7 separate regions of the Homo sapiens genome follow, and regions 2, 3, 4, 5, 6 and 7 are each linked to region 1. Evidence: promoter capture Hi-C in 16 types of primary human blood cells and fetal thymus (Javierre and others, 2016). All regions are on one chromosome and are shown on one strand. Each heading gives the region's core, a stretch centred on a gene start or on the middle of the fragment in contact. The rest is flanking DNA. Distances are from core to core; before and after follow the strand shown.

Evidence for each region. The method cuts DNA at HindIII sites, captures the fragments that hold promoters and counts their contacts. A CHiCAGO score of 5 or more calls a contact.
Region 2: a fragment that was not itself captured here is called in contact with the fragment with the promoter of CBLB in region 1 in 2 of 17 cell types (total CD4 T cells and total CD8 T cells); the score reaches 5.4 in total CD4 T cells.
Region 3: a contact is called between a fragment that was not itself captured here and the fragment with the promoter of CBLB in region 1, in 1 of 17 cell types (activated CD4 T cells). The highest score is 5.9, in activated CD4 T cells.
Region 4: a contact is called between a fragment that was not itself captured here and the fragment with the promoter of CBLB in region 1, in 5 of 17 cell types (total CD4 T cells, total B cells, non-activated CD4 T cells and 2 more). The highest score is 8.0, in total CD4 T cells.
Region 5: a fragment that was not itself captured here is called in contact with the fragment with the promoter of CBLB in region 1 in 1 of 17 cell types (activated CD4 T cells); the score reaches 7.0 in activated CD4 T cells.
Region 6: a fragment that was not itself captured here is called in contact with the fragment with the promoter of CBLB in region 1 in 1 of 17 cell types (activated CD4 T cells); the score reaches 6.7 in activated CD4 T cells.
Region 7: a fragment that was not itself captured here is called in contact with the fragment with the promoter of CBLB in region 1 in 8 of 17 cell types (naive CD8 T cells, activated CD4 T cells, naive CD4 T cells and 5 more); the score reaches 11.8 in naive CD8 T cells.

Annotation. Positions count from the first base shown.
Region 1 is chr3:105,866,900-105,871,043 of GRCh38, forward strand. CBLB (Cbl proto-oncogene B) reads right to left here and starts at 2,113. Exons shown (of 19, transcript NM_170662.5): 1 at 1,837-2,113; 2 at 511-692. The coding sequence starts at 678. RefSeq lists enhancers at 1-34, 65-114, 235-324 and a silencer at 2,082-2,311. The HindIII fragment of the contact is 9,979 bases long and covers 1,428-4,144 here.
Region 2 is chr3:106,373,943-106,378,086 of GRCh38, forward strand. No RefSeq gene overlaps it. Among named protein-coding and RNA genes, the nearest start is that of CBLB, 510 kb to the left of the region's middle. The HindIII fragment of the contact is 4,859 bases long and covers 1-4,144 here.
Region 3 is chr3:106,289,496-106,293,639 of GRCh38, forward strand. No RefSeq gene overlaps it. Among named protein-coding and RNA genes, the nearest start is that of CBLB, 420 kb to the left of the region's middle. The HindIII fragment of the contact is 4,948 bases long and covers 1-4,144 here.
Region 4 is chr3:106,262,637-106,266,780 of GRCh38, forward strand. No RefSeq gene overlaps it. Among named protein-coding and RNA genes, the nearest start is that of CBLB, 400 kb to the left of the region's middle. The HindIII fragment of the contact is 2,499 bases long and covers 1,000-3,498 here.
Region 5 is chr3:106,241,529-106,245,672 of GRCh38, forward strand. No RefSeq gene overlaps it. Among named protein-coding and RNA genes, the nearest start is that of CBLB, 370 kb to the left of the region's middle. The HindIII fragment of the contact is 1,416 bases long and covers 1,663-3,078 here.
Region 6 is chr3:106,225,357-106,229,500 of GRCh38, forward strand. No RefSeq gene overlaps it. Among named protein-coding and RNA genes, the nearest start is that of CBLB, 360 kb to the left of the region's middle. The HindIII fragment of the contact is 3,056 bases long and covers 347-3,402 here.
Region 7 is chr3:106,208,653-106,212,796 of GRCh38, forward strand. No RefSeq gene overlaps it. Among named protein-coding and RNA genes, the nearest start is that of CBLB, 340 kb to the left of the region's middle. The HindIII fragment of the contact is 5,079 bases long and covers 1-4,144 here.

The DNA of each region.
Region 1 (4,144 bases), core at 863-3,362:
AAGTTTCTTAATGAAGATGAATTCTCAAAGATGAAAATGGAAACTCCCTCAACTACTGCTTCTTCACTTAAGAACTAATCTGTTTCTTTCCCCAGTAAATATTTTCAGTATCATACCAGATGATTGTCATGAGTGGTCAAAGACTTAAATAACCTGCTGGTACTCTTTTGTTATCTAAGAGCAACACAACCTCACAGAAGACAGAACAAACACTTCCAAGCATTCTATGGCCATACACCAACAAAAAGCAGCCAATGGTAAAACTTTACATACTGAGTCATGTAGAGGAACTCTGAACCTTAAAGAGTAGAAAGGATGAAAGGTTAAAAAACAAAAAAGTCTTTGAATCCAACTTTTCAAAAAACACAGAGTTGAAGAAAAATGATGAATTGAAATCAAAAGATTGTTGCCATAACAATGGTTGGTATTAATTAACAGTATAAATAAATCTGGAGAAACCACAGACAAAGTGAATAGTGTTTCGCACAGGCAACGTCAGACAGAACTTACCACTTTGTCCATGAGCTTCCAAGTCTTCTCCACGGTCCTGCGATCTGCGGCAGCTTGCTTAGGGGGTCCAACTGCATCCTGAATAGCATCAATAATACCCAAAATTCGACCTTTTCGGGGATTTCCTCCTCGACCACCAGGGTTTCTGCCATTCATTGAGTTTGCCATCTGGAATTTTAGTTCTTTAAAAGGCAGATTTAAAAAAAGAAAAGTTAGTTGGTTTTGAAAATATTTACCCACCAGAAAACTAGAGACTAACTTGTACCACTGCATCTTCCTCCATCGATTAGAGCAAAACCAAAAGTTCCGGATTCATCTTTATCAATAAGCTTGTGAATTTACACTCTCAATCTTTACACACAGTAGTTTTAAGAGCAGTGATCCTAGATTTGCTTTTACAATACTAAGAGTTAAAGATGCATCCTGCTCACGTTTCAAGTAGCTAAGGCTGAACTAATACTCAACTCATAAAAAAAAAAAAAAGAACAAACAAAACTTAAACAGGTTTCCCCCACCTAGATAAAAACAGAATGTTCTTCCCCTCCTGCCTTAATTCCAATTCAAAATACCAGAACAACTGAAGGTCCTATCATACATTTTGGGAGCCTTACGCAGAAACTTCACTTTCACTCTGTTAGATTTCTCCAAGTTACATAAACATAAAGATTATCCTACACAAACGTAAGGGACAGCTCTGTTGTCAACAAAAGCGCAGGGCATGTCCCACACTAAAACCACCAAGTACGGACACACGAACACCTTTCTTTAAATCAACGCGGTGAGTCGTTATTCCCAAGAACCAAATGAAATTAACACACAAATAGCCCATTTGAAAAGAGAAAAGAGAAAAATGACAAGAGCGGCCACGGAAAGGAGGAGTTCACTTCTCTGGCTCCTCGCCTCTGCCCTCAACCCAAAGCTTTGTTTCAGGACGCCTGTGTCCCTTCCCTGCTCAGGCCCCTTCCCGGCCCCTCGGGTCTGAGCTGCAGGAGGAAGGTGGACTGGGAGGGGACAAAGTGTCCCTCCCGTGCCCGCAGCACCGTCCGTCTAGGGCGCGGGAGGGACACTGTGGGCTCGGCGCCTGGGTGGACGCGCCTCCCGGCCGCCTGCTGCAGTCCTCACCGCCGTCTGCCTGGACGCCCTCTCCCTCCTCCCCGGCCTGCGGGTTCTGGTCTTTAAATGCCCCACTTCAAACTGGACGGCGGCGGCAAAGGCAGCTGAGAGCCAGGGCTGTCCCCTCTTCCTCCTTGGCCCGCGCCTGGCTACCCCGGGCCCCCGGGCCGGCAAGAAGTGTGGAGCCTCCCCGGCGACCCCTTCCCTTCTTGCCTTTCGGCGCCGTAGCTGTCCAGAGACACGCGTGTGCGCGGGTCCCACTCCACACGCACGCAGCCCAGTGTGTGTGGGGAGCCCCGGCTGGGAGTGGGATCGCTGAGAACAGCTCGCTCCCGAAGAAGGAGCAACCCAGCGCGCAGGCCTCCGAGACGTGGAAACGCAACAATTACCGTCAAGACAAATCCACACCCGCTCTCCCCTCCCGCCCGACTCGGGGAGGCCGCGGGACGCCGCAGCAGCACTAGCAGGAGGAGGAGACCGCTCGCTGGACACCCCACCCCTGTGGCACACACAGGACCCAGGCTCGGGGCGGGGCGGGGCGGGGGCGGGGCCGGGCGCCGCTGAGCCAATGCCGCGCAACCGCGCACTGCCCGACAGCGGGTGCAGCCAATGGACGGGAGGCGCCCGTCCTCCTCGCGCTGCCGCCCCGTCCACGTCCTCCACAGTACACAATGGCCCCAGAGGAAGGCCCGCTCGCAGCACGTCAGAAAGGAATTGGACTCGGAGAGAAATGAGGGGCCTGGACTCTCCCGGGAACGAAAGTGGAAACGGGAAAGGAAATGGACGAAGGGATGCAAGGCACGAAGGAGCTAACCAATAAGGGGTGGCAGGTGGGCGTGAGCGTCGGGACCGGGAGCCAAAGCCATCTGGGGCTGAAAGGCGGGACTTCCTGCTTCGCTTACCTTCCTAGTCTTTTGTTTCATAGCAACAGAGTAGTGGCTGGAAGGGTGTTGCTTCTCCGCTCTGGGCGGGTCCAACGCTGGAGAAATTCATCTCCCTAGGGCTGCCAAACCCTTCTACCCAGGACAGCAGCCAAACAGGTCTATGACGTTGCTTCTTGTTGGCTATCAAAAAGAGCAACAGCCACTGAGCTTCTAAAATGCAGAATAAATCTCACAGAGAGTAGGCTGGGGTGACATCTGAATGCCAACTGAAACTTCCCAAGTTTCCGAGTTTCTCTTTTGCTGTTAGTTTTAGAGGGATTGCAGACCAAACATCAGGCTGATGAAAAAGCAAATAGTTGACAACGCTGGCCAAACAGTCTCTGCTAATCATGCCAAAGCAATAAAAGTACCAGATAATGGGAATTGCTGATAAATACCTTGCACCTTTTTACTTAGTGCAAGTTTCTGCCTAAATGACTGAGGAGGAGACAGCTACTGTGTTTTGTCGGAGTCACCTTTACATAGATTTCTATCCATTTAAAAACAACCTTACTGTAGCTGCCATTCTCTACCAGCATTGTTACCTCTTTCTGTGGCTCCCTTCTTTGTGCTCTTAAAAAGGCCGACATCTGGCTAGTCTTTAAAGGAGAAAGCTACTGTGCTGGGACTTGTCTTTCAGCAATATCATAGGTTAAACAAATGCCTTCCATTTATTTCAGTTTACTTCAATCCCACCACTCATGCTACCAACAATTGCTCTGGACTTCATACTTTGGAACTTTCTTTCCACTACAGTTGATAGCGTTTATTACACTTTTCAGCTTGGACATCTCAGATGTTCTGATATTTTACATTGGGTTTTTTGTTTTTGATTTTGTTTTTTCAAATCTTGCTCTAACCACGTAACCTGATAAAATGTTTCTCAATGGTTCTAACCACTTTCTAGCAACTAAGAATTTTAATACTGTAATTATTACTATGAAGGATCCTGAGTTTTCCTTTACAGCCTTGAATTTACATGGTTAAGATTTTAATTTGACGAAAACAGAAAAAAAATGTGCCTTTGCAACCAGTCAGGTGATAAAGTGTGATTCAGGAAGTAATTTTGTTTCCTTGTCATTATTTCTGTGCCAGTAATTAAAGAGTAGTTCCTTGTTTTCACATTGCATTTATCTACAAAAGTGCTGGCCTCTCCATATCTCCTCCACCCATCCATATCTCTTTTACTCATAGTCGTAGTAGCTACATTTACTAAGGGGAGACTGTAAAAGAAAAAAACTGTGTTACCTTTAAAATAAATTTTAAAAGAATTAATGTGTAGAAGCATGTAGCAAAACAGTGGCTTAAGGGAACATTATAACTAAGTATATTACTTATATTCATATCTGGATAAATGTAAAATACCCAAAATACATGTTATAGCATGTGCCATTCCTTTTATATGGTGTTTTGCAACTGAAAGAGATGAGTTAATGAGAAAATGGCATTGCCTATGGTATCAAGCATATCATGTTGATATAAATTACAAGTTTTGAGGTGTATGGTTTGACGTATTTTGAAATATATGTATGTGAGATACGGTAGCATCCCTTACCACTTATTTGCCATCTCACTTTCCTTGGTTCTAGTTACCTGTG
Region 2 (4,144 bases), core at 784-3,283, 510 kb after region 1:
GTGCTCCTCTTTAGGAAGCTAGTGTGCTGCTGGGCAGAACCAGGAAAAAGGCAGAATTAGACATAAGTATACTAGAATGAGCCCTATATTTATGCATTGCTTCATTCCTTATTCAACAAATATTTATTGAGTACCTAGTATGTACCAGGCACTATGCTGAGTCCTGGAGAAAGTACAGGTGAACAAGATGGACCTTCTGAACAGCCTTCCTTCTCTATTCCCCACTATGCCTTATCAGTGAGACCTTATTCTTCTAGTTGCTTTGGTAGGACAGGCTCCTTAGGTGATTTTTTTGAAAGGTTGTTTGTTGTTGTTGCTTTTTTTTTTTTTTTAGCAACGATGCATAATGTGATAGACTGTTATGTTTGCCCTGTTTGAGTTTATATTTCCACAGGCATGACCAATATTCACATTTATCATCTTCAAATTATACTGATTTTAAAAGTTTATTTTTAATTGTGCAATTCTCACTGGTTTCCTCTTGGTAATGAGCACCTGAGAAGAACTGATAAAGTATTCAAACTGCTCCTTGAATATCCTATTTTAAAATGTGACCAAATGAGGTCCCTGCTTTGAGAAGACATGGAAAGAATGTTAAGAGCTACTGTCTTTAACAAAGATCACCGAAGAGTATTCCTTCCACCGGCAGTGGGAGCTTCTCATTCCCCCATGAGTCTGGTAAATGCTCAGGCACACACTGTTGCTGAGGAATAACCGAAACTCAGGAACAATCGTATATTTGTATGTTTCCTCCTTCCAAACTCCTGACTCTATTCTAGCTCAGATAGATATGAAGGAGTACGGTAATAAAGCATGTATACTATGAAATTGTACTAATTGGATGCATAAAAGATCACAAGTGCTGTGCAGAAACTCCATTCAAAGGGCCTAAGCTGTAGACATGCAAAACCTGCTGCTTCAGGTGGGCACTGAAGCTACCGTTATAATAGCAGGGCGTGGGCAGTCCTATTTCCTCCATGTCCTTTCCCACATGGCTTTCTCAGCAGGCTGCATTATGACTTTTACGGACCCTAAGTATCATGAACCCCTTACTTCATTAAACAATAAGATTTTATTTTTGATACAGTTGGTATACAAAGATAGTAATTAAAATATTTTTTAATATTTTCTTTCATCTATTATAAAAGTTCACTTTTTTTCCTTCTGATTTTGAAGAAATGTAAAACATTTTATGGGCTCCTAAAAGTATTGTGAATCCTGGGCAACCTGTCCAGGGTACTTAATGGATAAGGTGTCCCTGCCTCTGGGGTCAGTACCACTGCATGCTCCTGCCATCGACTCGTGCCACCCGATTGCCATTTGCTTTTTCAAAATGCAAGCACAAACTTTAGATTCCTTTTTTTTTTTTGGAATAAAAGGGCTCTTTACTGCTCACAAGTTTATTTCTTATTATAAAAATCATTCCCCACCCCTTGCTTTTAGTAATCCCTCTTTACTCCTATTTAATCCTGGATGCCACAATTAGACAGAAAGCAAGAACTTTTTTTTCTTTTTCTTCTGTAGCAGTGGACACCTTATGAGTAGATAGATATTAACTGCTCCAGGTCTGTCAAGTAGATGCATTTCCTTTGCTTTTGATTTTCACTGAGTAGAAAAAAACCTCTGTTACTTGTTACTTTATGACATAGAGACTCCACTGAAATAGCTTAACAAAATGAAAATGTAAAGTGAACCACAGCAATGGTGTGACTAGGGGTGCAAAGTGGATGATGCATTTGAAAGACAGAAGCAGACAGAGAAAGAAAGAGACAAGCAGAGAGACAAAGACAAGAGGCAGAAGGAAAGAGATAATACAGAGAAAAGTAGTTGCTCTGATAGTAATGTGAAGAGAAGTCTAAAAGGCAAGAGTACATAGTGCTAAAGGACAAAAACATGGACTTCCAACTTTCTCTTCATTTTCTTCCTAAGATCATTACCTCTAACCACCTCCACTCAAAATAATTTCCCAAAAGTCATGTTTCCACCAAAGTCTTTATCTTCACTAGCCATCAATGGGAAAAAAAAAAAAGGTGATAGGAAGAGAGGGTTGCTCTAGTTATTACTTCTGCTTAACAGACTACTCCAAAATTTTAGGGTTCAGAACAAACATTTTTTGTTTGTTTGTTTACAGCATCTTTGGGTCAGGAATTTGGTCATCTTTGGGACAGCAAGAATGCCTCGCCTGTGGTCTGTGTTGTCTGCGGCATCAACGAGGAGGACTCCATGGCTGGAGATGACTCACGAGGTGGGAGCTGGAATTGCCTGGAGACAATTTCACAGTGGTTGAAATCAGTTATGGGCTGGAGTCCTAGTGGGGGGCTGTTGTTTAATGTACCTAAACGTGGCATCTTCATGTGGCCTGGGTTTCCATTGCTCACAGCATAGCAGCTTTGGGGTAGTGGCATTTCTTACATGACAGCTCAGAGTTCCAACAGGGAATGTTCCAAGAAAAACAGATGGAAGCTGTGTGTCCTTTTTTTTAACCTAGCTGTGAAAATTACATGGCATAAATTCTGCCATACTTTTTGAGTTTAAACAGAGACATGTCCTGTCAGATGTATAAATGGGGTGCATATAGGTCCTACCTCTCAATGGGAAGAGAGTCAAAGAATGTGTGGACATATCTAAAACCACCATAGACAGGTTTTAGCTAATTCTTCAACTCATTACTTTCTATCTCTGCTGAACATTATTAAGAACATTAGGTTCCACTGGGCGCTGTGGCTCATGCCTGTAATCCCAACACTTTGGAAGGCCAAGGTGGGCAGATCACGGAGTCAGGAGTTCGAGACCAGCCTGGTCAATATGGTGAAACCCCGTCTCTAATTGAAAAAAAAAAAAAAATTAGCTGGGCATGGTGGCGTGTGCCTGTACTCCCAGCTACTCGGGAGGCTGAAGCAGGAGAATTGCTTGAACCCGGGAGGCAGAGGTTTCAGTGAGGTGAGATCGCGCCACTGCACTCCAGCCTGGGTGACAGAGCAAGACTCCATCTCAAAAAAAAAGGATATTATGTTCAAATAATCCTACTCAGCCTTCACTAAGACAACAGAGCCTACCCTGTCATAGTACATCTTTCTTATGTAGAAAAATAACTAATACTCCATCAAATCACCTCCAAATTAAGGAACCCATTCACCCTAATTCTGGGGCTGTTATTGAGGAAATGCCCCTATTTTGTTAGAGGACTTATTTTCTTATGCTATAGAAATGCAGGCTGTAAGGTCCAATGTAGTCAAAATAAGTCATTATGTCTGCGTACGTAAGTGAGAATCCTACGATAAAGCTATGGACTCAGCAGAGCACCTTAGTAAATTATAATGAGGTTACTTCAAGGAGAAATCTGAGATGCTAATCTCCAAATTTCTTAGGATTAATTCTTTTCTGACCCGTCCACATTTTAGTTGACTGCTTGGTATGTATCATTAACAAAATATCTCCTGATTTAGTACTAACCTGTCAGCGCCTATGAAATGCCTTATGTCTCTTACTATCTGAGCTGTTACTCATACTGGTTTCTTTTCAATACCTATAGTACTTTTTCTTAGATATTTTCAGAACTGTAATTATACACTGTACAATTTATAGTCTCAAACTAGATGAATAAATAAAGGAATGAATAAGTTTACTGTTTTTAATTATTTCATGCTCATTGATCTGGTCTTCCAAGGTTTTCAATTCTGTAATACTGTGTCACTTCCTCTTGAGTACACCCTATATAGCATTTAACCTTCCTTTATTGATTAAATTAAAAGTATTTATTATCAACTATAAACACAAAACTCTATTTAGAAGTATGGTGACAGGTGAAACATTGACTGGAAGTCTACAGAAATGCCAATATCTTATTTATGGCAAATTGACTGTGGGTGGCACAGGGGTGACCTGGAAGGAAAAGGAAATGATGCTTTCTATATCTGTTGTGCTGAGATTGGACTTGAACCTACTTACTAGGAAACAGAGCCTATGTGAAGGAAAGGAACTACACATCCATTTAGCCTAGTGGTTGGGGTGGGATGAGGATTAGGAAGATGAGAGGAGTGTGTTGTACTTCGGATTCAGGAACTAAGCAAAGACTCCAAGTTCAAGGGGATTTTCAATTATCATTATATGAGGAAGTCAGGAACTGTAATAAAAGAATGATGAC
Region 3 (4,144 bases), core at 844-3,343, 420 kb after region 1:
GATGATAACCTTTTAGAGAACAACAAGATTGGTGAATAAATACAATAAATATTTAGTAGTCAGTAACTTTCCTGTTGCTTAATATCTGGGAAAGACAGAGCATAAAGAGTAAAAAGTTTCAGTTCAGACAAATAAATTCTCCTCTACCTTAATTTATCTTAATTTTAGAAATTGTTCTACTGACATGAAATAGCCTTTCCAAAAAGATAAAGTAATATGTTAATTATCTCTGTTAATTTTAGAGGTTTTCATTTCAAACATAGGAAGAGTCCAAAGATTAAGTTATAAAATATTTAACAAATGTTATAGGGTGAGATGTTGTGAAGGGCTCAGTAGTAGAGGATATTATATTTTCCCTGAAGGTATTAGCACATTTGTTGCAGAGAAAGGAAATACATATAAAAAAAGTGTAAAGGAAAAATAAAAGCCCAAGGAACAATAAAAGCCAAAGTTCCAATGCCACATTAAGGGACATGGACCCTAAAATTGAGAATTCAGCATCATAGACTGGAAAGTTCAGGAGTTCTTGGAAATGACTGTAATTTTAATTTCTACAATTAAAAATATATAGAATCTCTATTGAAATAGTTTTTTAATTAATCAATTAGCCTTCTAGTGCATATTGAATGAGTACATACAATCATTATTCAAGATCAGATAAGCATGATTACAACTCATTCACTCAGTGGTATATTCTTCAGTTGAACATTTTGGTTGCTGTGATCATTTTGAATGTTACAAAGCCTCAACTTGCTTTTATTCTTGATCACAAATAGATAATAATAGAAATGTAAAATAGACCTTGAATTAAAGGCAGAAAGCATAAAGAGCTCAATGTGAAAAACAAGTGAATCTTAACTTTCATGTGAAACTCTGATGAGAAAGAACCATCACATTCTTCATTTTTGTTTGTGTAGTCAACTTAAATGGATCCCATGACTTAATCTTGCTGGATCAGTGGGAAATTTAATATTAGTCATTACTGCATCTTCTGCTCATCTCCACCACTGGCAGCTGTAGGTCTCAGGTTTTCACAAAGCACGATTGAGAAGGCCTCTCTAGTCTGCCCTTCTTGCTAGTTCATCTGAGGTGTTTATGTTCTGAGTCTTCTCATCAGTCAATTAATGTTAATATCTACCAGCTTTACTTCCACTGCCATACAGGTGTGCCCAGACACTCTGAGTGTTTTGAGACCTTGGGGCCTGGTCTCCAGCTTCCTTAGGTGCATAGTGAAGACACTCCCCACTGGGTCTCAAAACCTTCCTGGGATGGTGCCATGCATGTGTGTGGTCTTGCCCCTTCCACTTACATCATAACTTCCTCTAGCTCTCAGGGCTGTAGTGAGAAATAAAAATGGTACAACCTTTAAATCATTTTTACTTTCCTTTTCAAATCTTTTTTGAGGCAATAGCATAGGAAAGAGAACTTCACCATTTTATTTTATTTCAAATCAGCATATCTAGGAGAAACTGGTGGGGAGAAAGACATGAAGCAGGGATACTCAGCATACAGTAGTGTTCCATATTTTGGCTGGGGTTAATTTCTAACAATGTATGTGCTAGAAATCAAATAAAATTATCCTTGAAAGTATACTTAATTTCCAATAGAGTACGGTATCCATTACTTTGTATATTCAACTCTGTTCTAAAATGTTTATGTGTAAATAATAGAAACATTAGTAACATAAAAGCATTTGTGAATGGAATTTTATCATATAAACACATCATATATACCTGTATATATTTGTATGTGTGTATATATATACACACACACACATATGTAGAGCCTCCTTGCTGCATATATGCATACATGTATACATGTATGTCCATGTGCATATTTGCTTTCTGTTTTGATTGTCCTTTCTTTCACTTATCCTCTACAACCTGGAAAGTTTAATTTGTGTTGAATGAATGGGACTATCAGCCACCTTACAACCTAAGCTCAAAAGGAAGACTAGCTCCTTTGGTGATTTTAATTATTCTAAAATTATAAGCATTTCAGGCCGGGTATGGTGGCTCATGTCTGTGATCCCAGCACTTTGGGAGGCCAAGGCAGGACCCGAGGTCAGGAATTCGAGACCAGCCTGGCCAAAATGGTAAAACTCTGTCTCTACTAAAAAATACCAAAATTAGCTGAGCATTGCGGTGCGTGCCTGTAGGCCCAGCTACTTGGGAGGCTGAGGCAGGAGAATTGCTTGAACCAGGAGGCAGAGGTTGCAGTGAGCCGAGATCAGGCCACTGCACTCCAGCCTGGGTGAGAGAGTGAGACTCTGCCTCAAAAATAATAATAATAAAAATAATAAATAAATAAATTTGTAAATTATAAGCATTCCTTCTTCTGAATACTGATGAAGAACAGAAGAATCTGCTCACTCACAATGCCCAAGTCCTTTTCCGTGAAGGGTCAAGACCAATGGTTAAGGTGAAATACGATGTCTTCTGGGTCAGTTCAGACAATTTTAATGGCTTTGGACAACCCAATGAGGCTTATCTCATTCTGTGATTCATTTGGTAACTCTTATATTAAAATCCTTTTGTGCATAATCTCAGTTGGAGCAAGTGTGACATCATGCTATAGCCAACATGGAGAGGAGGAACATTGAAATAGAAATATTTATATCAGAGAGGCCTATTACAGAAACAGAGTAAGCACTGATGAACTGTCTTGAATGCCAAGCTAAGAATTTTTTTGCCATGCAGTAAGATGTTACAGTACATTTCTATGAGGTGACAACTAGGTGAAAAACAATTTGTTTGGTATTCTAATAGCAAAAAACCTGAAAAATAATTATAACAAAAGGTGACAATATGATGTCTCTGATAAGCTGTCTTTCAGAAACAGTATTTTCATACATAAGATGCCAGAAGATGAAATGTAGCCTATTTTTCAAAGCTGAGAGAAAAATAAATGAAAATAGTATCTGGCATACACAGAAGATGTAGGGGAGTATTATTCATAACCATGAGAGGTTAGTTGAAGATAGAATATTGGGCTTAGTCTTATTAAATGAGATTATTTGGAGATAGAGCCTAGAACTGCAAACGTTAACAAGCTATTCAGGTGTTTGTGTTTTTTTTGTTGTTTTTTGTTTGTTTGTTTGTTTGTTTTCTGAAACTTACGTGTCTCAGACTACTGCAGAAATCAAGTGAGTATATTGATTCTAACATGTTTTATTTTCTGAGTCATTTAGACTCCTTGAATTTCAATCCCCTGTTCTGCAAAATAAGGAAAATTTTATCTGCAATAACTATATCATTTAGGGAATTACCTATATAGTTTAGGGGATGACTGAAGAAGCAATCATATATAAAAAACACTTTCAAACTTAGAAGTGCCAGACAAATGCATGTTGCTGTGGTTGTTGAAACCTGTATTACCATTATACCTCAATTCCTTCCTCAAAATTTGTATTTCTTCTTCTATGCTATGTAATGCATACTCTGTGGAAGCTAGGTCCAATAGCCATTAATCTTTAAAAGGCTTAGAAGAATTTGTGTTCCAGTCAATGAAAAGCATTAAAGCTGGAAGGGATTTTAGTGTATCTTTTCAACACATCTAATTCAATGTTTTACAGATGAAAAGGTTGAGATCTAGAGATTTGAAATTCTTCTGTCGTTTTTTTCATATTAGAAAATCAAAGATGATTATTTGTATTTTTTAAATAAAAGTATATCAAATATTAGATATGCATCCATGAGTATATTCATTCTAAAATTCATTTGTTCTTTCTTTCCCACTCCCCAAACATGCCAAAAAAAAATGTTTAATAGAGGACTTGCGTCAAAGTTCCAAGCCCTCTGGAACTTTGGTTCTGGGTGTGGTAAGCATAAAGAGGGTGAAAGCGTTCTGCTATCTGGGTTGAGTTTTTGGAGGGCTTAATCCCAAAGTCCTAGAGAGTTGACATTTTTTTTGAGATACCCCAGATCTGTTTTTTGCAGATATCCTAGGATTCAGCAAAAATAGCCCAATATAAATATTCAAGAAATCTGCCACACGTTGATAGAAAATTTTGGCAAATATGTAATCACAGATGGTACATATCACTGAATCTAAGTAAAATCAATCATAGACTCAAAGGAAAGACCTATGATTTAAGAAACTAGAATAATATAGACTCTCATTTTACATAAAAGCAAACTAAGGC
Region 4 (4,144 bases), core at 999-3,498, 400 kb after region 1:
TAAGTGGGAGCTAAGCCTTGGGTACACATGGTCATAAAGATGGAAACAATATTAGGCACTGGAGACTACTAGAGAGGGGCGAGATGAAGCCTGCAAGGGTTGAAAAACTACCTATTGGGTACTATGCTCATTACCTGGGTAATGGAATCATCCATACTCCAAACCTCAGCATCACACAATATACTCATGTAATGAACCTGCACACATACCCCCTGAATCTAAAATAAATTTTGAAATTACTGAAGAAGAGAAACAAAAGGAGGAAATCTTATGGGAGTCAAAGACACTGTGGGTCTTGGTGCTGCCCCATGCCAATAAGGTGAACTGATAGATCAATCACAATGAGTATGAGTTGCCATACTGCTATTGCTCTTCAGAACTTAAAACATATGGCTGCTTCTGCACTTCTGTCTTCTCATGGAAAATATCTTTTGTGGCCAATGCTGCCGAGAACCACATGAGAAATATAGTTCCAGGCTGGCTGAATTGACACATAGAGAGCTAACAAAGTTGCATAACTAGTCTATATATATATGCTATTGCAGCATTCCTATCTTTTCTCCACATGAACTTTGGGTGACGTTTTCAGAGTGTAACAGATCGTATCGTTCATCAGTTTAAAACACATAAGGGGATTCCCTTTACTCTAAGTTTAAAGACAATCTCCCAACCTGGCCTTTTAAATCCTGTGTAGTTTGGCCTTTTCCTTCCTCTTCAGTCTCATCTTGTACCATGTTTCCCTCACCCTTTGAACTACAGCCGCAGTGCAGTTTTTTCCTTCCTTCAAAGTTACTGTATTCCTGCACGGTCTCTGCATGTGATATTCTCTCTGCTTGCACTGTTCTTTTTGTGTTTCATTGGATCAGTTCCTGCTCCCTTTAGCTTTGACCTTAATTTTAAATTATTTAAAGAATCTTCTGTTATTGCTCCTATTAAGTCAAATGTCTTTATTATGTGCTTCCATGGTGCCACATATTTCACATTCCTGGCCCTTATCAAAGCTTCATTTTTAATTTAGTTGTAGTTATTTAACTAATATCTGTCTCCTCTTAATGTTGTGTGCTCTAGGGCAAGGGTCAGCATTTTTTTTTCTTCAAAAGATAAGAAGTCAGTACTTTAGACTCTGTTGCAACTACTCAACCTTGTTGTAGTCCAAAAGCAGCCATACACAAAATGTAAATGAATGAGTGTGGTTGTGTTTTATCAAAACTTTATTTGTAAAAATAAGTAGTAGGCTATATTTGGCCCACAGCTCTGAAGTTTGCCAACCTCTAATCTGGAACATCAGGCAATGTTTATTTTGCTTACCATTATATTTTCAGTCCCTAGCACATTGCTTTATTCAATATATACCAATATATAGTTGCTGAATGAATAAATGAGTACCAATGAATGAATAAATGAGTAACAGTATATAGTTGCTGAATGAATAAATAAATTATATTTGTTTTCATACAGACTTTGGCCATTCTGTCTTCCACGGTATCCAAACCATTTACGCTACCAGGAATACCTTCTCCCAATCCAAATTGTATGTCACTTCTCAATACTCTTCTTGTTTACCACTTTTTTCATAAAACCATCTGTCATTACCCAAGTTTCCAGTATTGGGGTATTCCAAACTCTAACAGAAGTTATTTTCTGTACCAGTAATTTGACTGAATACACTTATATGACTGTACAGTTCAACAAGGCACTTTCCCAAAGTTTGGCATTTTGGACGAAAATGCCCTAAGTCCTGCTTATCTCTAGGCAGTGAGAGAGGAAAAAATAGTGAGACTCAAACAAAAAAAAAATGTTGACAAATTATTCTGTTGCATATATGTCAACAAAAATGCCCTACACTGCAACAGGTACTAGGGCTTGGGTAAGATGTGGTCCTCCAAATGCAGAGTTCAAGACAGGCTTCACTGAGGTGATGACATTTGAGGTAAATCTAAAGAAGTCAACGTATTACTTATATTTGGTTTAGTATAATATGAGGGACTTACTTTGTTTAGCCCACCCCAAATTTTCATTACAAAAATTTTAAAACATAAAGTTGAAAAAAATTAATTCGATGAACACCTGAGTAGTTACCATTTAGAGTCAACAATTTTTAACATTCTATATTTGCTTTATCTTCCCTCTGTACTTTTTTCTGACCCATAAGTTACAGACATCAACCATTCTCTCTTAATTCATGTGCAGTTACTAAAAGTAAGAACTTCTCTCACATAACCATAATATCATCAGCAATACTTCCCTACTTCATCTAATATTCAGGCCATAATCAAATTCCCCACTTATTACACAAACTGTCTTTTATAGCTCCATTTTTAAAAAGCTCATGATCCAATCCACTTGATTATTGAGTCTGACTCTTAAAAGAAAACATGGGAATTTTGGAATATGAAGTAGATAAAAAGTTCATAATAAAGAATAGCAGGTGAAAATTACAGGAGTTCTCTTGAGGGAATAGCAGACTAATATTTTGTGACCCAATAGCCAACAGAATTGGTGGGAAATGCCTTTGGAGGAGAATGACAAGCCAGATCATGAATGATCTTGAATATTAAGCAAAGGAGCTTTGAACTTATTTCTGTTGAGGTGGGTTTTACCATCCCATAATTTTTGACAATGTTGAGATTGAATACTGGACTGTAGAACAATCTCACTAGCATGATTCATTAGCTCTAGTCTCTTTTTACCTAACCCTTTTCACTGCAGCATCTTAGATGATCAGATTTTTAAAGCAGCCCTCTCCAACTATTAGTCTACAGCTGACCATATGCAGATCTTTTTCAAAGGATAGGAAATTTAGCTTATGATTAAAGGGACATCTGGGCACACTCTTCCAGCAAGGGACTGATTTACCTCCTCACAGATTACCCTGGCAGTCCTAGGCAGCTGATGACCACAGGGGAACTTGAGCCCTTTCTCTGCCTTCCGGAAGCCAGTCACAGGGACTTTATCACAGCTCTCTAGGGCCGAACCTATGTTGTGCTGGTTATTAATAAGAATAACCATTTGCCTTTTCTGATGTGAAAGTGGAAATTCTTGGAACCAGTTACAATTAGGTTGCTATTGATATGAAAACTACAGCAATTCAGCGTTTTTTTCAGCATTTTCTCCCTTTATTTATATAGTTGGAGACTCAAAGGCCAATAGAAGTTAAATTACTTCCATGGGGTTCACAGTCCTAGGCAGCATTGAATAACTGCCCTTCAATGGGCATGGCTATGTGCCAGTCACTGAACTCCACACTCTATTATAGAGTGTCTCTGGAGGGGTTATCTGATGAGCTCAGATAGCATCAGATATGCAGGAAATTCGTAGTGGCTTTATTTCTCTATACATGCTTTGACTTTTCTGATAGTCCCTCTACACCTTGGATAGCTGTGACAATGTACACGTGCCCATTGTTCTTTTAATATTTTCCAGTTCTAGTCATCTCTTTTCAGTTTAATCATTTAGTATATTCAAAAAACAACTTCTGATTACAATTATTTAGGGTAAAGCTTAACCTCTTTGACTTCCTCCTCTTCTCTCAAAGATGGCTTTTGGAGGTATTGGGGAATGGAAAAGTAAAGTAAAAGAAAAAATCCAACTTAATCCTCACTGTCTTAAGTTGGATTTCCCAGAAGCAGACCTTGAGATGAGGATTCTTTAAAGAAATGCTCCCAAGGAGGCTCTGGGAGAGAGTACACAGGGGAGTTCTAGGACACTGGTAATAGAAAAGTCCTGCAGCTTAATCTAGTTTTTTGTTATACTGGTGCATTCATCATGTGAAAATTCATCAAGTTGTTCACATCATCTGTAGATTTTTATGTATGCGTGCTTTTAAACACTTTTTCTCTTCACCTATACATTTTTTTCTGGCTACTTCTTGCATCAAATTACATGAATATAGAGCAACCCATTTTTTAAATAAAATTTTTAAATGCAATGTACTTAAGACACATTAAAAAAAATCCAGATGGTGATTTTATTTGTTCACTTATTTTTCAATGTAGAAAATCAGTCATGAATCAGATTATTTAATTACGGAGAATCAGTATATGAGAATTAAGTTGCAAAGAAAGTATAGGTGTATGTTTAGATCCTTAAATTGCTTAAGTAACATATATTCAAAAGTCTATTCAAGTCTATTAGATAACTGAAT
Region 5 (4,144 bases), core at 1,121-3,620, 370 kb after region 1:
TGTACCTGCCTGTTTCCCTGGCAGTGCCAAGTCAAGGCTGTGACAGAGGTTAAAAAACAAAAAAAGGGTAGGAATAAACTGCAGACTGCTAGCTGCAAAATGATATGCCTGCTGATTCCAGAAATTGGCCCAAGAATTAGCAATCATTCTACAATAGACACACTAAATACCCAGAAAGGATGCTTTTGCATTAAGCCATTCATCTTAGAAAGATGTCACACACTCTTCTAAGACTTCCTCATTAAATAAGCAGCACGAAAGGTACAGGTCACAGCAGGGAATCACTTAACAAGATTTCACACTAGGAAAAGTGTTTAAATTCACAGCACTTGCACTCTATCCGTGCTGCACTTAAATCTCAATTTTCCAATCATATCACAATTTCTATTTCTTACTTATTTAAGCTACTTAGAGTAGTGAAGACCCTTTTCTTTTAGGATTTAAGGAATCTACATCCATCTTCACACCTCTCTGATCATGTGTGCCCTTCTCCATCCCCTCTTACCCTTTGGATCCTTCGATAAAGTTCTTTGCAATTATTATCATAACATCGTGGTCCTACATAAAAAATATCATAGAAATATGAATACAGAGAGGATATCCTTTTATCTTCATATCTTTGATAGTTACTATGATAATATGACTCTTAGATTACTCTTACGAGAAAAACTTTGCTTATGATATAATCATGACCTCAACCAGGTTTCTCCCAAATACATGAGGGAAGGAAGAATTGGCAAAGGTAAAAATTCTTTTTTATATAAAAAAGAGTCTTCTTCATTCTGTCATAAAAGTATTACATATTTAGTATAGGAAAAGAAAAAAGCATATAAAATAAACCACTGATTTTAATGCATCTTCTAGTATTTTTGGATGCCTCAAATTTAGTAATTTAAAAAATTATATTACTATTTTTCACCAACTTTGTATCATAATACTTTTCCTGTAATGATGGACTCTTTATAAGCAATTTGAGTCACTGACATTGAATGGATATACTACTTGTGTTAAACATTTAAATTATTTTCAATGTTCAGTTCTGAAAAATATTGTCAGATATAAACATTTTAAAGATTCATAATATACCTGTTGTTTATTCTGCCCAGAATTATATTTACGTTTTTTAGGAAGTTGTCTGCCTGTTCTAATTACTGGAATCAAATAGACAAATTGAGAGAGACACCTTTTAATTCTCCTCACTCCTCTGTTCATAGTGATTGTTTTAGGTTGGAAATCTACACCAAAGAGGCCACAGTCTCCACTGGCCATAGCAGACTGACCCGGGATGGAGGGCACTGGAGTAAAGCTGGGCTATTGAGTACCCTTCTTTAGGATTTTTAAAGTGTATCAAAGACAGCAATTCAGTTCCTCTCTGGTAGTGGAAATGTGAGGTCCTTAGGTAGCTGCCAGCAAGGCTCCCCACTTCATGGAAGAATGTGCTCAGCAGAAAAGGAAGACAAACAGCAATGAGACCAAGTTGCTGCTTGCAGCATATCAGTTTTGGTTCTTGTTTTCAGTGCAGCCCAGCCACAGTTACGTGTATCTTCTAAAGAATGCTGCTTTTAGCGTAAACTTTGCTTAAACAGAATTTTTGTTTCTTGCAACCAAAAAAGTGCTGATGAATGCAATAGATACAGTTTCTAATTTATTCAGGAAGTAAAAAGCTTTTATTTTAAATGTTCCCATCAGCATTTGATATTTTCATTAAAATTTCATTTTGTATTTTCAATATTTGATTATTTTCTTGTGTGACTGAACGTTTTTTGTGTTATTTGGTGTATAACTCTACTGTGGTTTGCATTCTTTAGCATTACAAAGTACCCTTATTAGTATTTTTCACATAACACCTTTTTGCCTAAATTCAACCTTGTTGGAAATTCAAATCTTAACTCCTGCTTCTTTTTTGGCTGATAAAATTATGTCTCTCTTTTGTATGTGGACATTGAGTCAGTTTATTTGGAGTTTCTTGCATAATATATAAAGTTGGATTTTACTTTGAGATCAAATTTGAAAGTAATTATTTTAATTAACAGCTTAGTTTATCTGCTGTTATTGATATGGTAGACATGTTTGACCTTAGTTCTATTATGTCTATAAAAATCTTTTGTGGTCTGTTTGCTTGGCTTCATATACATGTTCATGCATAGGTGTGCGTGCATGTTATACATTCACGGTGCATTTCTGATAAAGAAGATGATTTGAGTTTTTGTTAGAGTGTTTATTTTTTAAGGATACCTTTAATCTCCTCTTTCTTGGGACTGTATCTATTAATTTCCTTCTGTGAACAATAACAACATTAGCATATTTCTCCCTTTTCTCTTTTCCCTACTCTTTCCTCCACCACTTAGTTTCAGTCAATGCATTATTTTTCTTAATGTTTGCTTATCTTTGCATACTTAAACATACCTGTATGTCTGCTAATTTATTTTTATTTCTAAATAATAGGTCTGATTACTCCTCCCACTCTTAAAACTGAGAAAATCAGCAATTTAGTTTACCTCCATTCCCCATCCTTTTTCCCTGCCACATTCCGTTATACTATTTTTATTAGTTATATTATCAGTGCATATAACATTGTTTATTATGTTGCAGGCTTTAGTTTTTGCATATTTCAAATCTTAGTCCCAAGCTAAATATGATCAATACTCACCACCAGTTATTTTATTATAATTTATTCAATTTTCTCTTGGTTGGCTGATACTTGTCTTCTAGTAGGATACTAAAGAGAGTTTATGGGAAAAATATACTGGAGTTCTGCATGTTCAAAAATATTTATGTGTTGCCTGTATATATAATGAGGGATAGGCTGAATATAAAATTCTTAGGTCACTCTTTCCTTGAACATTTTGTAGGTTTCATTCCACAGCATTTATATGAGTTGAAGGTTTCTGTGGAGAAGCCACAAGCAAAACGATTTTTTTCCCCTGTTATAAGGCATTTGATTTTTGGTCTGGCTGCTACTCAAATACTTTACTGATCTTTCAAGTATTGTAATTTTCTTGTGATATGTCTTTGTGTTGCTATTTCTTGTGAGTTTTATCTGGGCTGTAATGTAGCTTTTTAAAACTATGTTGCTTAAGCTTCTTCAATTTGGGGTAAATTTTTTTGAGGTGTAAACCTTTACCATTTATTTCTCTTATTAGTTTGCTTCTTTAGCACACTAAAATCTAAAATCTACTAAAATTTTATATGAAAATGTAGATTTTTCATATATTGACTCTTTTTTTGCTTGTCTTCTACTTCATTTGTTTTCTTTAGAGCTCTTTTTAGACTTTTTGATTAACTCTTCTCATTTTTACATCCATTTCTCATATTAATTTTTCCCCAACAGTGTCTTTTCTCCTTGTGCTGCTTCTTTTTTTCTTGTTTTGAAGACGGTCTTAATTTCTTCTTTTCATCCCATCCCCCAAGATCCACCTACTGAAACTCAAGTTAAAAATATTAAGACTAGATTGAATAATACCCAAAGTTCTGTAAGTATATAATCCCAAATTCCATAGTTTGTCATCTATATTTTTATTTTGTTCTTGATTCATATAGGATAACATATAGCCAGCCATTTGACCATGATTTTCATCTACTGTGAAAAAACAGATTTCTGGTATTTGCATTATTTCACTTTTTCTTTATTCCTTTTCTCCTTTACTGCTTTTTGTTTGTACTTTTTTCTAGAATGCATGTTGATTCCTTTAATTTACTTATATAGTACTCATAATTGAAGGACTGAGTAGTTTCTGTATCTAGTTATAGGAGTCGGATTGGGGGAAGAATGCAAAACATAATTATAAAAGTATTTAAGGTACTGTCCTCTTCAGAGCCAGCTTACTCTGGGTTCTTAGCAGCAAAGATCAGTGGATGAGTACTGGATCCCCACACTTTAAAACTGTATATAGATAAGATAACTTTGTCCTAAGGAAGAGTGGCTATGCATTTAATTTTCTAGTATTCAATGCAAGGAGCAAGCAGGCTTGAGAACATCAGTTTCACAATCACCAAGTTTAAACTTGATGAATTTTAAAGAAACTTGAAGAATAGTATGTTTCTATGGCTTTGAGTGATCTTCTCATGGCCACTGCACAGGGACAATGCCTATGCAATTCCTGGATAAGTGAGCTCACCTCAAAATAATCTCCTGCCCCCAAGC
Region 6 (4,144 bases), core at 625-3,124, 360 kb after region 1:
CTATTTGTGTATTTCAATGCAATGACTGCATGGCCTTTACCTAGTTGTTGATTTGATGCCAATACAACACCTACTTGATGAGGGCCAAGATTAAAGTGAGGCAATAGGCTGCCCAGGGCACAACATTTAAGGAGGTATTCACTCTCAGGTTTGAGCAGGTGCCAGCATATGGATGAACCCTCCTTCAAATGTTGTGCCATAGGCAGCTTGCCTGCCTCATCTAACCTTGGCCCTGGCTTGACTGCTGTAGATTCTAAAAGCTTGAAGTCCTCCAACTTTGTGCTTCTTTTTCAAATTTGTTTTGGTTTCTCTGAGTCCTTTAAATTTCCATATAAATTTTAGAAAAAGCTTGTCAATTTTTAAAACAAAATACCTGCTGGGATTTTGAATGGGATTATATTGACTCTACAGATTAATTTGGGGAAAATGGACATTTTAACAATATCCCATCATCTGATTTGTGAATTTAGGTCTTCTTACTTTAGATATACAAGTGTACAGATGTTGATTTTTAGTATATTGATCTGAATTCTACAACCTGAATAAATTCATTTATTACTTATAGTAGGTTTTTTGAGGATTTTTATGGTGAATTCAATAGGACTTTCTACACTGACAATAGGGTCATGAAAAAAACTTTTTAAAAATAGTTTTACCTCCTCTTTCCAAACGTGAATGCCATTTATTTATTTATTTATTTATTTATTTATTTATTTTCTGTATTGCACTAACTGGAGCTACCTTAATCCTGTTGAATAGAAATGGTGAAAGCAGAAATATTTATCTTGTTTCTAATCTTCAGGGAAGAATATTTAATTTTTCACTATTAATTATGATTTTAGCTGTAGTTTTTCATAGGTGTACTTTATTTGGTTCAAAAACAAGTATCTCTAAGTCTTAGTCTGCTGAGTGCTTTTATCAAGAATGAATGTTGGATAATGTTCATAGATTTTTTTTCTATATCTCTTGAGATACCATATGGTTTCCTTTTTAAAAAAATATTAATAGGATAAATTACTTTGATTTATTTTTAATGTTAAACACCATTTGTATTCCTTGGCTAATTGCCTTGGTCAAGATGTATTATCTTTCAAAATGCTTTTTGATAAAACTAAAAAAGAGTCCAAGAGCTAAAGGAATCCTAAATAAGAAGAACAAAGCTGGAGACATCACATTACCTGGCTTCAAACTATACTATAAGGCTATAATAACCGAAACAGTATGGTACTGGTACAAAAACAGACACATAGACCAGTGGAACAGAATAGAGAACCCAGAAGTAAGCTGAAACCAATCTGGTCTTCAACAAAGTCAACAAAAATAAGCAAAGGAGAAAACACTTTCTGTTTAATAAACAGTACTGGAATAACTGGCAAGCCATATGTAGAAGAATGAAACCAGGCCCCTACTTTTCACTGTGTACAAATATCAACTCAAGATGGATTAAATAATTAAAGAAAAGACCTCAAATTGTAAAAGTTCTAGAAAAAAAACTAGGAAATACCCTTCTGAACATTGACCTTGGCAAAAAAATTATGACTAAGTCCTCAAAAAAATAGCAACAAAACCAAAAATTAGTAAGTGGGACCTAATTAAACTAAAGAGATTCTGCACAGCAAAAGAAACTATCAACAGAGTAAACAGACAACCCAAAGAATGAGAGAAAATCTTTGCAAACTTTGTATCTGACAAAGGTCTCATATCCAGAATCTACAAGGAACTTAATTCAATACTTAAAAAAAAATGACCCCATTAAAAAGTGAGCACAGGACATTAATAAACACTTCTTCAAAGATGACATACAAGTAATCAACAAACATGAAAAAATGCTCAACATCACTAATCATCAGAAATGCGGTTCAAAACCACAGTGAAATACCGTCTCACACCAGTCAGAATGACTATTATTAAAAAAAAAAAAACCAAAAAATGACAGGTGCTGACAAGAATATGACAAAAAGAGAATGCTTATATACTGTTGGTGGGAATGTAAATAAGAGTTGCTGGCAATGCTGCGGAGAAAAGGAAATGCTTGTATACTGTTGGTGGGAGTATACTGTTGGCTGGAATGTAAAGTTCAGCCACTGTGCAGAGCAGTTTAGAGATTTATTAAAGAACTAAAACCAGAAATATTATTCAACCCAGCAGTCCTATTACTGGGTATACCCAAAAGAAAATAAATCTTTCTACAAAATACACATGCATTCACATATTCATCACAGCACTATTCACAATAGCAAAGACAGAAAATCAGCCCAGATGCCCATCAATGGGGGATTGAATAAAGAAAACGTGATAATTATACACCATGAAATACTACACAGCCTTAAAAAAGCACAAAATCATGTCCTTTGCAGCCACAATGTGAATGCAGCTGGAGGCCATCATCCTATGCGAATTAACATAGGAACAGAAAACCAAACACCACGTTATCACTTATAAATGGCAACTAGACATTAGGTACCTATAGACATAAAGACGAGAAAAATAGACACTGAGAACTACTGGGGGGTGGGCAAAGAGGGTAAGGGCTAAAAAACAACCTATTGGGTACTATGTTCATTACCTGAATGATGGGATAATTTGTATAACAAACCTACCCGTGTACTCCCTGAATCTAAAATAAAAGTTGAAATTATTAGAAATTAAAAAAAATAAATGAATACAATATTTTCTGAACATGATTTAAGTTTGCAAAGTTAAATTTGTATCTGTGTTTATGACATAATTTGTTTGTAGTTTTATTTTCTTATTATGATAATGCTGGCCCTTAATATAAATTGGCATGTATCTATTTTTTTATGCAATAGAAAAATTTTAGTGAGTTTATATTATTCTTTTTTCCTTAAATGTTTGACAGCATTATAAACAAAGCCATCTTGTCCTAGAACTTTCTGTGGCTCACAGTTTTGAGTTCAGCTGAATATTGTAGGGGCACTCCCTCTGAAAATCACAAGAGTTCTCTTTATATGTAGTTCTCTTTTCTCAAGAACTCTTCTCTAAAATGCTGCCCCCAAAATCCCAGCTGCCTGGGCTTCTCTGATTCTTGGAACCCTCAGTTCCATTCAAAGAATCACCAGGTTCTGCCTGAGTTCGTCTTCCTTGTTCTGTGGCTTTGAACTTCTCTCCACCCAGTAAGACAGTAAATCACAGGGCTCGCATGTTTGTTTCCTATCTCTCATGGATCACTGTCTCTTCTTGACTGATACCAATATCCCAACTGTTGTCTCATATATGTTGGCTGGTTTTTAGTTGTTTTAAAAATGAGGGTTTCTTTGGTCCATGTTTTTTAATCTTGGCTAGAAATAGAAGTATAAAATATGCTATTAAGTTAAAAAAGCAGCATCCAAACTATGTATATAGTATATATATACAATATACATATATCTATATGGAGAAAAAAGCTTAAAAGTTCAGCACCAAAATGTTTGTGATATTTGTTTTCAAGTATCAACTTTGCATATTTTCCCTTTTTTACTATTTTCTAAAGTTTTTTATGGAGACTATGTATTGATTCCATAAGAAAAATAAACCATCAATGTTACAGTAATAGAAAAATAGAATTAAATTAGGCACCTAGAAATGAACACAATTTCGAATATGGAATTTTCAGTGAAGGATAATGTAGGACAATTATTTTTCCCATTTATTCATATTTCTATGAATGGAAGCCTGAGATTGTGTCTAATTTTTTAATAGCAAAAATATTTCATCATTGACTTATTTGGAGCTCACAGTCAACAAAAACTCCCATATCTTTTCTAAGGAATTGCTTTCCAGCCCATTGTTTTTTTTTGGTTTTTTTTTTTTTTTTTGCTCTCATTCCTTTTTATTATTCGAGAAAATTTTAAGCATCTTCTATACAATTACCACATTACAATCATTTGATAAAAATAAAATCCAATTAAAATGAAACAACATATGCCTGCACATAAAGAGCCAAATAATTACAAAATTAATTAACCTTGCTCTACATACTTCTCTATAGTGACAATTACTTTCATACATTTTAGCCGATTCTTTAGATATTGCCTCCATATTAAAACACCCACACAATTATATTGCTTTTTGATTTTATAGTTTTAGCGATTACTTACTGTGGGAAGCAGAATTCCTATATGGCACTCATGATTCCTGACCCCTA
Region 7 (4,144 bases), core at 611-3,110, 340 kb after region 1:
TTTTCTTTTATCTTTTTTTATCACCTTTGTTTTATGTAAGTAATTTTTTTTTTTTACATTTCACTTTCTTAATAGTATTCAAGTCTTGGGAACATAGTTCTTGCAGATAATTTTTCATATTTCCTTGTTTCTGGTATTCTTAATAAGCAATCTCTAATTAGCTCCTGTGTTTTTATTTTATTATGTGTTACAGGACTGTATATAAATCTTATTTTATATTAAGTGCTTCCTAAGGCTTTCAAGAGTCAGTTACTTCAAAAGAGGCTTTTCTAACCACTGGTAACAATGATATTACTAAGTGGTTTTCTTTGAATAATAACCATTACTTTCTTTGAAGTTAATGCCAAACTTAATTTTAAAAAATGATATAAACATGTATAAATTCAACAAAGAAAAAAGGGAGAATGAAATAAATTTTATTAACAAATACCTCGTTTGTTTAGCATTCATTTCTCCAATATAGATGCATACCTATAATAAATCAAACAATAACATTAAGTCTTAACATTGCCATCTGCTGGGAATGTCAGTGCAGTGATACATACTAGAGGTAACATGATGAATTTGTAGTAGCTAAAATCATTTAAGTGAAAAACGTAATTGTTTTTCACTATATAATTCCTAGTTTGATTAACTTTTCTTTCAAAAAATCTGAACTAAAGGAGAAGAAAAGTAAGAAAAATTTGCTCAGTTACTTTGAGGTATTAGAGAGAGTTTTATATATTTTCTCTCAAACATTATTTTATCCCTTGGAGACTGAGAGAGAATTTTTCTTCATGCTTTACCTACAGGGGCACAAATTCCATATAGCTTACTTTACTTTCTTAGGTGCTAAGGAAGATGTGAACAGGGCAGAAAGACAGCCAAGAGTTACCTTTGTATATGTTTTCACTGGTTGTTTTATTTCTCCTTATATATATTCAAAGTTAAAAATTCACTATAACAATGACTTTAATAGTTTCTACAAATGTTGACTGCCTAAGTGGAATGTAAGGCATGCAATTTGTAACTTTAAACAATTAAAATTGTAGTGGTAACTTCTTGTTTCACTATTATTAGACCATGAGAAAAAAATGCCCATTTGACTTTTATTGTCCACGTCAACATGCAGTATTTCAATAGCCATAAAAAAACCAAATGTATTGGAATATACATATAATTAATGTACTGTATTTGAAGAGATTTTAGTGGTCATTAAAGATGTCAAAAGCATGTACAAGGTACAAAGGAATCAGGGATATGGCAAAGATGAAAACATCAATAATATCCCTGAGTTCATGTCCTTGGAAGTCCATCAAAAGCATTCAAATTTTTTTATCCTACTGAATATACAATTATATGAGCCTTAAAGATTAAAAGAAAGCTCATGGCGTTTAGGTAGAAAGTTAGCCAGCAAGAACCAGTTTTCTAGAAAAACCCATTACCTTCTATTAGGTAGAAAAACAAGAAGAATGGTGAATTGCTGTTTGTTTTCTCCTCATGCTTCGAGCATGAGCAGGAGCAAGGCCTTTCAATGACTGAGAAATGTCAATCGATCAATAGGCGATGAATAGAAAACAAGAACATAAAAACAAATCATAATAACATGAATTCCAGGTAAGTCTCTAGTGAGGCATTTAAACATATTGCAATATGCTGAGAATTTCCAATTTGCTAATATTTTCCCTAGTTTATATATTTTCTTTTATAATAACACATCAATAGTGTTTCAGGTTTGATTTATGAAGGAAGCCAAAAATAATATAATTCGGGGTGAGTACAACTGACGTTTATCATCCCTTGAGAGATATGATGGGAACACTCTTGTGGCAACACTAAGTCATCTTTGTGCTCTTCACATAAAGATGAAGATTACATCAGAGAGTAGAAATTAGGTATTTTCCTTTCTACTAATGCTCTTTGCAGTGTTACGCTGAAAGATTTTGGGAGGAAACAGGCTATTGTCACTGGTACAGATCTTCATTTTAAAGACCATCTTGTCACTGTTTTAGAACACTGAACAGGTCTAGATGAACTTTAAAGGATATTTCTAACTTTGATTCTAAAAGTAAACATTACAAATTATTTTTTCGATTGAAGTAAACAACTACAAATCACATCCAAACATTATTTAATCCCCCAGAATGACTCAGTACAGGATCTATTTGTTGAAGGTAAATATGAAAATTTTGCTTGAAACTTTTGCATAATCACATATTTTGAAAAGTAAGAAGTTATTTTCACAAAAGAAAAGAAACAGACATAAGCATGATATGCGTGAATGGATAATAACTGTTTTGTTTTGAGTATAGTCTATTATTTGTAATGGCAAGTTTACAATTTCCTACATGATATATGACATTCTGAGTAGTATCATTTAAATATGTAATTTAAGGTTGCATGGAGGAATATGTTCACCTACCGAAATTGAGACTGGAGGGAAAAGTTGACTAGTTTATTTTTAGCTGCTGTTTAACATGCCAGAAACAGAGCTAGTTGCCTAACATATATGGTTTCATTTAATCGGCCACTGCTTTTGGAGACAGGCAACTTTGTGAAGTAGAAAGAATGCTAGGGAAAGGTAATAAGAAAATCTGGGTTCCAGTTTGTGTGCAGGCATGGGTGAAGTTGAATGGAGTTAGTAGACTTCAAGAAATAGTGAAGCCGTTTTATCAAGTAGGTCATCTAGGTAGAAATGGAAAGTACTCAGGATGACAGAATCCTTAGAAACTAGTTTATGATCTCTACTTCCAAGTTGCATGATACCATGTAAGTGAGATAAATTATGAGACATGATTCATGTATTTCAATAAATATAAATGAGACTCCAGGAAATCGATAAATGGTAGTAAAAAGGAAAATAGAACTGTATGCATTTTCAGTCAGTGCAATGGAAATACTTGGAAGGAAGTAATTGAGTCAAGAACATGAAAAATAAGAATACCATGATAGGAGGGGCACTGAGATAATAACCAGACAAAATCCCGAAATAATGGAAATGTGAAAATGATTTTCAACCAGAACTGCTGAAAACTACCTTCGCTGCAGGTGTCCAGAGAACTGTTCAATGCTCGAGGATAGCATTGGTGTAAGGTTGCTGAGGCTAGTAGAAATTTAGCTCAGGCATCTTTGCAGGGGGTGTGTGGCCCTGTGCAAGTTGAGATCTGAATGGATTCTAAGGTCCAGTGAAAAAGGAAGCCTGTGACTGGGTTGCAAACTGCTGAAAATTGCACAGGATGGATCTTGGAAGAATCTGAGAGCTCTAGCAGTTGATATTTTGCTCTGTTCAGATAAAAGCAATGATGGTCTCTGACAGCTTGCTTTGATTATAATAGTATTTATTGAAACTCCTACACATAAAGCACTATGTTAGTTCATTTTTTTTACTTTTGTTAGTTTATCAACTTTTTACAATTGATGTTCATCTTTTTACATTTTACATTTGTTGCTTCACCAATTGTTTACAATTTACATTTGTTCATCAATTTCAACAAAATCTAATGTTTGTATTATCTCTATTTTTCAGATGAAAAAACTTAGGCTAATAATGGTAAAATTAAAATTCTAATCTCAGTCTTTCTATTTCAAAGCCTGAACTTTATATCTCTATCTTATACTATTTGCCTAAAAATCTCTAAAAGTAAGCTATAAATTTATTTTTCTATTAAACAAACAACTAAAATCACATCCAAACACATTATTTAATCTCCAAGAATGAGAGCTTTTATCAATATTTTTGATACATATACATTTTAATTATATTATACCTAAACCACTCAGGATTAATGCTTGATTCCAGTCTTATATTTTCCCATTTATCCTGGAGAGCAGAACATTTAACCTGAGTGGAAGAAACATGTCATATACACTTCAGCAAAAAAAAACTTCAGTTGTATATAGAAAAGATCAATTAAACAGTGGTCACAATGAAAAGAGGACCTTGCTTTATAGGTCTTTTTAAAAATTAGAGCTAGTAATGATAAATCCAATTGTCTTTTTCTAGTTGAAGAAGGAAACTCACAGAGCTAAAACTACTAGTAGAAAAGAGAATGAAGAAACAGAACTGAAGCGCAATTTCCTCACCACTCTCTCCAAGAGAGAGCCATGTAAAACTCACAGAAATATCTTCTTTTGTTGAAATACCACAAGGGATTTTTTGTTGCCA